Regions from separate parts of the Homo sapiens genome. Here region 1 is linked to region 2. Evidence: promoter capture Hi-C in human tissues and cell types (Jung and others, 2019). All regions are on one chromosome and are shown on one strand. The core of a region is centred on a gene start or on the middle of the fragment in contact, and the rest is flanking DNA. Distances in the headings are between cores, read along the strand shown.

Region 1 (5,647 bases), core at 643-3,142, 130 kb before region 2:
AACTGCAGGAGTCAACCTGAAGGAGTTCCCAATAGTCAGAATGAAAGCAATTTGAGCAAAATTAAAAATTATTAAGTACTGGATTATAACCTGTAAAATATGGTAAATGCCCACAAGTCCATGCTAATGTAAATAAACAACTGAATACATAAATAAATGCAGGAGAGAAGGTAGCTCTTCCTTACAGAAGAATTGTAATTAATAAGTATAGAAGGAATAAAGGAAATACAAAATTACCATCAGGCAAACACTACAGTAATAATTTTTGCAGGCAAGATCCACTGAAAGATACTAAATCAGTAAGGAAACTTGACAGACACCACCTTAATCAAGTGATCAAGGTTAACATTATCAGTAATAAGACATCTCAACACTATGTAACTCCCTGATATGACGCACTGAGAAGGTTATACCATCACTTCTGTGGTATTCTTGCCAGAAATGCATAACTTCAATCTAATCATAACTAAACCAGGGATTAACTCAAATTGAGAGACATTCTACAAAACAACTGACCTGTACTCATATCAAAAGTGTGAGGTCCTGAAAGACAAGGAAACAAAGAAACTCAGGCTGGGCATGGTGGCTCATGCCTATAATCCCAGCACTTTGGGAGGCAGAGGCAGGAAGATCACTTGAGTCCAAGAGTTTGAGACCAGCCTGGGCAACATGGCAAAACCCCATCTCTACAAAAAATTAGCCAGGTGTGGTGGCACTTGCCTGTAGTCCCAGCTACTTGAGAGGCTGAGGCGGGAGGATCACTTGAACCCGGGAGGTCGAGGCTGCAGTGACGGGGATTGTGCCACTGCACTCCAGCCTGGGTGACAGAGCAAGAACCTGTCTCAAAAAAAAAAAAAAAGAAAAAAGAAAAAAAGAATGAGAAACTCATACAGATTAGAAGAGACTAAGGAGACACAACAAATAAATGCAATGTAGAATCATTGAAGGGAAAAAAATATTAGTTGAAAAGCTGAGATCCCGCCACTGCACTCCAGCCTGGGCCACAGAGCGAGACTCCGTCTCAAAAAAAAAAAAAAAAAAAAAAAAAAAAAAGAAAAGCTGATAAAATTTGAATAAGCCCTGTAGTTTAGTTAATAATAGTGAAGCCATGTTAATTTCCTGGGTTTGGTCATTGTGCTCTGGTTATGCAAGTTGTTAACATTAGAGGAGACTGAGTGAAAGGTATGCATGAACTCTCTGTACTAATTTTGTAAATTTTCTGTAAGTCTAAAATTATTCATAATATGCAAAAATTAAACAAAAAATAAAATAAAATAAGCACATGGAATGAGACTGTCCCCTGGGTCTCTGTAGAAACCAGGTCAAACATCCCAAATGCTCTTTTACCCCCATTCTGAGTTGGGCCAGAATGGTCAGAATAATGGTTCCCAATGTACCTTGATAAACACGGAAACTCTCAGGACCGAGTCCTAAGGTTCTCTGATTCAATAGGTTTGGAGTGGACTTGAGAACTGATCTTTTTAATAAGGGCCTCAGTCTGTGGAACTATTGGCCTCATGTGCCCTGTGGATAATCTTGGCTGTTGGTTCATTTTTCTTAACTGAAAACAGTGGCAGAAACTATGGGGATTTTTAAATCTCTAGGCTAGAACATTAACTTTTTAAAAATTCAGAATAGTATTTTATTTGCCTCAAGCCTGTGAATGGGGATCCCACAAATCACCCCCCACTGAAGACAATGCCCATAACAAGGTAACCTACCCATGAGCTTCTGAGGGATTTAGGAATTGTCTACCATCTCCTCTCTAAGAAGGGCTCCCACAATATATCCCCTTCTGCTTGCTTCTAACTCCCTATCACCTGCTAAAGAAGGACCTCACCTTTTAATCACTTTCATTGCCAAGGGGCACAAGGAGCCCCAAACTCTGTCACCTAGGAAGAGCTTGACCTCATGGTTTCCACACTGTGTGCTTTTATGTCCCTGCTCCAGGAGATGATGGACATTGTCAAAGCCATCTATGACATGATGGGGAAATACACATATCCTGTGCTCAAAGAGGACACTCCAAGGCAGCATGTGGACGTCTTCTTCCAGGTAAGTGCACACACCCTGCACATGAGCTGTAAGCCCAGCCTAGATCAAGTCAACCCACGAGCATCTGAGCAAATGATTTGTGTCCAACCCTGTACTAAGCATGGTTGGTAACAGAAAAGAATTATAAGATACATTGTCCTCAAGAAACAGATGATCTCCTTAAGCTGCAAGTGTACATGACAGAAGAGAACAAGAAAGTATATTATTAAACGCTAGTGGTATAGTATGAACTCTAAATCCATAAAAATTTGGGGATCAGGGTAAACACGAAAGACTTCATTAATTACAACTGTGGAGGTGTTAAGCATTTGTGTCTGGGAAGTAAGGGGAAATAAGATTGGAAACTAGGATAGGGCCAGATTATGAGACCTTTAAATGGAAGAGTTTGGCCTTGCTCTGGTACAGGATGGGCAGCTAGTGCTGATCCTTGACTAAGGGAGTGGTATAATCATTGGGGCATTTTAGGAAAAAATTAATCTAGCGGTGGAGTATCAGAGAATATCAAGAGTTCACTCTAGTTCAACCTCCCACTTTGCAGATGGGAAAAGAGAGTCCTCTCTGGCCTTGTGCAAGTTTGTACAGCAAGTAACAGGCCAGAATCAGAACCTCTTTTGCCCAGTGTTCTGCCAGATGGACAGGGTAGCAGGGAGTCTACAGAAGAAGCAGAATAAGCCAGCAGTGAGGTGATGAGTGTCCAGAGCAAGTCTTTTGATTTAAGGAAGCTCATGGGGCTCAAAGTGTTGTAATCAGGACCTAATTGGAGTTGTCTGGCCAGTGAAAGACAACTCTCATTCTCAGGGCAAAGTTGGTTAATGAAATGAATGAAATGAGCTCCAGCTCGTTACTCTGAGCTCCAGCAAGAAAGCAGGGGAGTAAGCTTTGGAATGGAGATCACCAGATTCTGTAAAGTGCTTTCTGTTATGTCTTTCAGAAAATGGACAAAAATAAAGATGGCATCGTAACTTTAGATGAATTTCTTGAATCATGTCAGGAGGTAAGGAGAGATCTCAGGGCACAATAACTCTACATCTGGGAAAGGAAACCTGGGGCCTGGGGACCTGCAGAAGGAAGGTGATGAGAAACCTGCACATACCTGCAACCCCTCCCATCAGAGCCAACAACACCAGCAACAACTGTGAAGTCCACAGTTCCACTCCTCAACCTGACCTGCAGTTGGTCTTGGCTAAGCACAAGACTGAACAGAGAGCCTAAGTAGGGGTCTGGGGGCATGTGAAAACTCAGAGGGGGTCTCTGTGAAAATAGACTTCCCGAGAGGGCAACACCATTATTTTTTAGCCTGCCTCTGGCTTGATGACCCATTTCCCAGACTACAAGGAAGCAGCTGGGGGGAAAAAAACCTACAATTGTGTGATTCTCAAACCACAGTGTGCATAAAAATTGCCTGGAATGATTCTGAAAATGCATATTTCCAGGCCTCAATCCCAGAGACTCTAGATCTGGGTCACTTTAACACAAATGTCCTGGACCAATGCTTCTAACACTTTAATGTGTGAAACAATATCCTTGATGATTTTGTTAAAATGCAGATTCTAATTCCATAGGTCTGGGGTAGGGCCTGAGATGTTACTTTTCTCACATTCTCCCCAGTCACACTGGTGATGCTGATCCTGGGAACACAACTTTCATTAAGTCTAACCAATAGACCAGCCCCAGAGTCCACCAGAGACTGAACTGGAAATAATTGCTTCATCTACTTTTGAGAAATCCATTTGTACCCCCACATTATTTTAGAAATGTTCAGAGTTACTCTGAGCTCCAGCCAAGAAGAATAGCAAATGTAAGAAAGCCGGGGAGAAGTTCCTAGCAGATACTGAGCCCCCATCAAGTTTCAAGCACATACATAAACATCACAGCCACCCTGTTATGTAGATGTCCTATGTGCAGGGTGATATCCAAGATATTTAACAACTAGAATGGAATGAACACTGACCCCCTTGGGGGTGAGTTCTCACTGTTAATTCCCTTGAGAGCTGGTTGTAAAACAGCCTGGCACCTTCCCCACCTCCAACCTTGATTCCTCTCCCACCATGGGATCTCTGCACACCCAGCTTCCCTTCACATTCCACTGTGAGTGGAAGCAGCCTGAAACCCTCACCAGATGCAGATGCCCAGCTGAACTTTCCAGCTGCCAGAATAATGAGCCAAATAAGCCTATACTGACATTAACCTTTTCATTTCTGATATTGATAATTTGAAAAGCAGTCTTAATAAGCATTTATCTACTTTATTGATTTTTTTGAAAGAGAGCGCTTTGGGGGGTTTTCTTACTGTATGTCTCTATTGCATGTTCTGTATTTTACATTTTTCTATTATTTCTTCTCTGAGGTATAGTATTGAATGTAGAAAAATCCTCAAATGTTCGGTATTAAGCAATACACTTCTAATTCATGGTTCAGAGAAGAAAATATCTCGAATAAAAATAAAATAAAAATATGACTTATCAAAATTTGTAGGATCTAAAGCAGTATTCCAGGAATGCAAGGTTGGTTTAACATTCAATAATTGGTCAGTGTAATTAATCACATTAATAGAATAAAAAGAGAAAAAATATAATCATTTCAGTGGATGTAATTGTTCAGAGCTTCTTAAAAGAAGCAACTCACTATTTTACTAGATGATTTGTTTCTTCTGAATTCCTCTTTAAGGCTACAGGTGGTGCTTCTTACTTTGAACTGATCACTTTCTAGGTCCCCACCCTTACTTCTTGTTTTTCATACCCTTGTAGAGTTTTCTCCATATAGGAAACCCATGCTTGACATTTGCTCACCAGAGTTACAGAGCTCTCAGGGAGGAGACTCAGAGTTCTAACCCTCTTGCCCTCCTTTTTTCCCAGGACGACAACATCATGAGGTCTCTCCAGCTGTTTCAAAATGTCATGTAACTGGTGACACTCAGCCATTCAGCTCTCAGAGACATTGTACTAAACAACCACCTTAACACCCTGATCTGCCCTTGTTCTGATTTTACACACCAACTCTTGGGACAGAAACACCTTTTACACTTTGGAAGAATTCTCTGCTGAAGACTTTCTATGGAACCCAGCATCATGTGGCTCAGTCTCTGATTGCCAACTCTTCCTCTTTCTTCTTCTTGAGAGAGACAAGATGAAATTTGAGTTTGTTTTGGAAGCATGCTCATCTCCTCACACTGCTGCCCTATGGAAGGTCCCTCTGCTTAAGCTTAAACAGTAGTGCACAAAATATGCTGCTTACGTGCCCCCAGCCCACTGCCTCCAAGTCAGGCAGACCTTGGTGAATCTGGAAGCAAGAGGACCTGAGCCAGATGCACACCATCTCTGATGGCCTCCCAAACCAATGTGCCTGTTTCTCTTCCTTTGGTGGGAAGAATGAGAGTTATCCAGAACAATTAGGATCTGTCATGACCAGATTGGGAGAGCCAGCACCTAACATATGTGGGATAGGACTGAATTATTAAGCATGATATTGTCTGATGACCCAAACTGCCCATGTCATTTGTTTCCAGAAACGAGGACCAATAATTCTCTCACACTGGCATTTGTGCTGGTAGTACAAGTCCTTTAATATGTCCAGGAAGGGAGCCATTGCCCAGT
Region 2 (5,367 bases), core at 1,614-4,113:
GTATCTTATGTTGGATTAGACCTCCCACTGAAAACTATTATAAAGATAGGACACGTGTGTGTATGACAATTCTATCACATATATTAAATATATATAAAACTATGAGTAAATATGAATTATCAGCAATCATGCATGCACACACCCACACACACACGACAGATAAGTATCTTTAACAACTAAAGGCAATAGAAAAGGCAGAACTTAAGTGGCCACAAATCTTGAAAGAAGGAAAGCACAAGGGGTAAGATTCCAATTTACCTTAGATTCCCCATCTGCTCCTCCCTGTCATCACCCCAAGGCATTTTCCAAGTGGCAGCAAGGAATAACAGCTAAATAGAAAGCAGCAGTCTCAATAGGCTAGGAGCAAAGGCTGGAGTTTCGGAACAAGAGCAACTGAGATTTGAAGGACAAAATTCTAGAAAGAAAGAAACTATAGAGATGTGAGTCCCCAAATTTGTGTCCGTTCCTAAGATATACATGCACATGAAGAGACTCTAAGAAATCCAGCAGAACAACAGCACCTAAAGAGCTCAACAAAGATTTCAGCAGCTACACAGGGCTGAAGAGACAGAGACTAGAGTTCAAGCCCCACAAGGTGGAAGGATCTTGGTAAACATTCCAGGCTTTTGTTTTTTTGAGACAGATTCTTGCTCTGTTGCCTGGCCTGGAGTGCAGTGGTGCAATCACGGCCCACTGCAGCCTATAGCTTCTGGGCCCAAGGGGTCTTCCCACCTCAGCCTCCCGAGTAGCTGGAACTACAGGCACATGCTACTACACCAAGCTAATTTTTTGTATTTCTTGTAGAGATGGGCTTTCACCATGTTGCCCAGGCTGGTCTCAAACTCCTGGATTCAAGCGATCCACCCTCTCTGGCTTTCCAACGTGCTGGGATTATAGTCATGAGCCATCATGCCCAGCCACATTCTAGGCTTTTAGTTGTAAGACCTAGTAAGGACCATGGCCTAGGAGTAAGGTCATAACTGAAGTTAACCAGAATTAAAAAGACTCAATGATCCACTAGTACTCTTGTCTGCCTACCACAAGAAAACTTAGCCCTCCTTGGAGAAACCTGTTATCATCCAGAGCCTCTACAAATTTTCTTCTACATGGTTTGAATTCAACAAGAAATCATGAGATATGTAAAAAAAAAAAAAAAAAAAAAAAAAAAAAAAAGAAAGAAAAAAAAGGGCCAAGGGCCAAGCACCAAAAACCCAGGAAGACTCAGATGATTCAGAAATTGGAGTTAACAGATAAGGGCTTTAAATAATACAGTTAAAATGTTTAAGAAAATAAAGACAAAGAATTTCATCAAAGCCTTGGAATCTATTTTTAAAATGGGAGAGGAGGAGGAACCATGAAAATTTCAACTTTCTAAATGAAAATTCTAGAACTGAAAATATTATAACTAAAACTAAGAATTCAATAGAGGGGATGTATAGCAGCTCAGACACAGCAGAACAGAGTTTCTATGGAATGGACAGCAGGCAAATAAAAAATACAGAATAGAAATAAGGAATATAGCAAAAACTTATAACATACATGTAACTGGAGTTCCAGAATGGAGAGGTAGAGAGAGAGAAGGGGACAGATGCAATATTTAAAGAACTAGTGACCAAGATTTTTCAAAACTTGATAAAAAAGATTACATTCACACTTAAAGAGCTTTATGAATCCCAAGCAGGATAAATACAACACACACACACACACACACTTAGCGACATCAAGCACAAAGTGCTGAAGACAAAAAGAAAAAATAAAAAAAGAGAAAAATGTTCAAGTACCTGAGGAGGGGGCCAAAAGACAGGAGCAACAATTAGACTGATGGCTGATTTCTCAATAGAAACAATGACAAGCAGAAGACAATGAGAAGACATTTTTAAAATGCTGAAAGATTAAAAAAAAAGCCAATGTGAAATTCTATACCCAGCAAAACTATCCTTTAAAAAATGAAGGTGAATTAAGATGATTTTATGTTAACAAAAGCTGAGAGACTTTGTTGTTAGCAGACCTGAATACAAGAAGTGCTTAAGGGAGTTTCCCTCTTAAATACTACAGCACAGTGCTCCCAAATGGAAATGCTGAACTTGAAGAAAAAACGGAGAACATCAGAAAGCAGCAACTTTGACCCAATTCTGCTCCAATAAATTCTCATTGCAGTGGAATCATTTGTTGTAAAATATAAGTTCATATTAAACAAAATGCAGACAAAGAATGAGGTAAAGCTTGAATTTTACAACTTAACAGCATGTAGACATGGGCGGTTTAATTTTAACCAAAATCAAGTTAAAAACATTGTTAAGCAACAATGGAATTTGGGCCCTGGGAGTCAGGGGTCAAGGGCAACAGCTGGCATGTGGGAGTCAAAGGTTATGGCTGTGTGTGTCTGTGGTTCCTGGCTGTTAGGAGACAAGAAAATCTGTGGAGATGCAGGTGTCGGGAGCCATGGGCGATAGTTGTATTTTGAGGGTCAGGGGTCAAGAGAGCCTTTGGAAGACTTATGAGTCAGGGTCCACGGCTGACGGGTGGGTCGTGGTAGTTGTGTCAAAGGGCAGAGGTTGGAGGTCATGACCCACCAACACACGCCGGTTGAAACTTGAGCGCAAGGGACGGTTGAGATTCCCGGAGGACACGCCCCTATCGGCCCCGCCCCGTGCACCGCCTCCGTCGCCCCGCCCCGTCCCTCCCAGCCCCGCCCCGTCCCTCCCAGCCCCGCCCCTCCAGCGCTTCGAATGCGGACGCGAAGCCTGGCTGAGGCTGCGAAGGACGAGCGGCGCAGGGACCCCGCGGGCGTCTGGGGCTTCCGCGGCGCCCGCCTCTGCTCCCTCCCCTCGGGCGCTGGGTGCCGACCGGCCGGCTGGCCGGCGCCGCCTCCTGGGAAGATGGCGCTGCACTTCCAGGTCAGTGTGCTCTGCGCCGCGGGCCCGCGCTCCGCCACGCTGGGAACCCGGCGGGACGCGTCTGGAGACCGAGGGCCGAGGACAGCGGCGGAGGCCGCAGGGCCGTGGGCCGGTGTCCCCGGAGTCCCAGCCCCTGCCTCTGCCCCTAGCCGGGGACCGGGACACTGGTCTGGGCTGCACACCCCAGGCCCGGGCCGGAGCCCGAGAAAGGGGCGGCCGAGCCTGGGTTGGAGGCGGCGGGTGGAGGGGGCGGGGGACAGGCCCAGGGCTCGTCCCGGGGAAGGTGCGGACGCCGGCAGCACGCTCGCTGACCGCGGCTTTAGTGTTGCCAGGGCAGGTGGGAGTCCCAGCTGGGCCGGCTTTGGCGCGCCTCGCGCGGCTGCCGAGCGGTGGAGCAGCCTTCCCGCCTTCCCGCCGCGTCGCCGGCGCGGCTCTATCGTCAGCCTCCCTCCACACAGTTGAGCCCCAGCCGGAGCGGGGGCTTGGGATCCACCGAAGGAGCGGCGGCAGCGGTTGGACTTTAATTGGCCAGAGGAGACAGGGGCTGCGTCTGGGGGGAGTTGCGAGGGAGGGCTACGCGGCCGCCTCTTCGGAGGAGGAAACCCGGGCCGGGCGCGGGCGCGGGCGCGGACGCGAGGATCGCAGAGGCTACGAAGATGGGACGCGTGCTTGTATATCCTCGGGCTGCTCTGACATCCCCGTTCAGTTATTCAGCAAACATTTATTATCTCCCCACTGTGTCTCAAGCATTGTGGAAAGTTCTGGGGATAAAGGATGACATCTTACTATCCTCGCCCTCATACAGTTAACAGAGAATTACAGTACAAGTGAAAAATGTATGGTAGAAATAGTCACAGTATCATAGCACAGAAAAGGGGGTAGCCAGCCAAATGTGTATGTTGAGAAGGAGTGAAGCAGAGCTGCTATGCTCTTAGCTGAGAGATGCTTTAAGATTCTTTGAGCCTCCATTCTTCCATTTATTAATTATTGAGCGCCTACTATGCTAGGCGCTGAAGATACAACAGCTCTGAACAAAACTATGGTTTCTACTCTCAGGGAACTTGCAGTCTACTGGTCCTTGAAAGAGTCGTAGTTGTTTGCCAGGTGAAGAGGAAGGGAAGGATATGGAGGTAGAAGGACGTGTGAGCCAAGGCAAAGAATTGTGGAAGAACATGGTGTACTGCAGAAAGTTGAGTCTGGTTGGGACAAAGGGATGGGATCAGGGGAGGCAGTGGGTGGCAGGAGATGACCCCAGGGAGGGAAGGGAATTTCATAATATGGTGACAGTGTATCTAAGAATCTCATTCCCCTTGTAGACTCTTTTGAACCCCCTGTGATCACACTGATTTATAACTTGGCTGATTTATTGATTCTTCTAAAGGGTCTTTTTTTTAAAACCAGTTACTGTCTGATAATCGACAGTTCTAGAATGTTATGTAGTAAGCCCGACACATTACCTTTTGACTTCATGCCATTTCTAAGGGTCCTCAGGTCAAAATAATGTATTACCACTTTAGTAAATATGCCCTCTGGGAAATTTTCACAGGAAGAATCTTACAAGGAGGATTTATGGATTGTAAATAGGTAATCAGATGTTCACAGAGCCCGAGTAAATCTTGAGAGTAAATTAAAAGGTATGGTGGAACTTTGGAATTTTTTCATACATGGAAAGGTGATGTACAGTTAAATCACCAAGCCCTGGAAGACTTCTTCATATTTAGGCACAGTGTTGGAAAAGTTAGCTGCTGATGTCAAAACTACCCATATTGGTTTTGCAGGAATGTACTTCACAGTACATTCCAACATAAGTACTTCACAGTACATTCCTGTAGACAGCTTAAAAGCGGAGTTGGACAAATAAAAGATCAGACAGTTTTGTTGACTAGAAAAAAACTGAAATTTCTCCGTTTGAATTCTTTTTAGCATATAGGATCATATTGTTAATCAGTTAACTCAAGGAACATTTGTTAATAGTGATAACCAGTACCTAGCATTTTGAGTTTTCATATCCTCATTATAGAGGTGAGCCCTGCCACTAACTTAAAAAGTGTGCATATATACGTTTCATTCTGAAGACACTGAGTCTTAAAACAGTTGTGACTTGCCCAACGTTACAGAGTTAGAGTAGGCCTCATAACTCATAAGTTCCGTGTTCCCCATTACCTCTGTCTTACTGTCACCTACCCAAAAGGGCAGCTAGGCAAAAATTATACCATCAAGATGATGAGTAAAGAAGCAGATTTGTGTAGGGTGAGGTTAGGGTAGTGGTCAACATCTTTTTCACATCATGACATACATAAAAAATGTTAATTGTGTGTCTCATTAACATAAACCGCTCATTGCCAAAGGCCATCAGTGTGCACTTTCCCCAATGTCTCAAGCTCTGCTCCTAATGCTTGGAGGGCAGAGGGATCAATATCTCAGGCATACCTGTGAATCATTCAAAGCAGTTGCATTCTGGTTAGGAAGC

The links. Contacts are between HindIII fragments. The study calls those that stand out against the background at their distance.
Region 1: a contact is called between a fragment that was not itself captured here and the fragment with the promoter of RANBP17 in region 2, in 1 of the 25 tissues and cell types used here (mesendoderm cells).

The regions. Positions count from the first base shown.
Region 1 is chr5:170,730,850-170,736,496 of GRCh38, forward strand. KCNIP1 (potassium voltage-gated channel interacting protein 1) reads left to right here. Exons shown (of 8, transcript NM_014592.4): 6 at 1,951-2,055; 7 at 2,987-3,049; 8 at 4,910-5,647. The coding sequence ends at 4,957. Among named protein-coding and RNA genes, the nearest start is that of GABRP, 50 kb to the right of the region's middle. The HindIII fragment of the contact is 4,401 bases long and covers 1-4,093 here.
Region 2 is chr5:170,859,155-170,864,521 of GRCh38, forward strand. RANBP17 (RAN binding protein 17) reads left to right here and starts at 2,864. Exons shown (of 28, transcript NM_022897.5): 1 at 2,864-2,897. The coding sequence starts at 2,880. The HindIII fragment of the contact is 7,494 bases long and covers 107-5,367 here.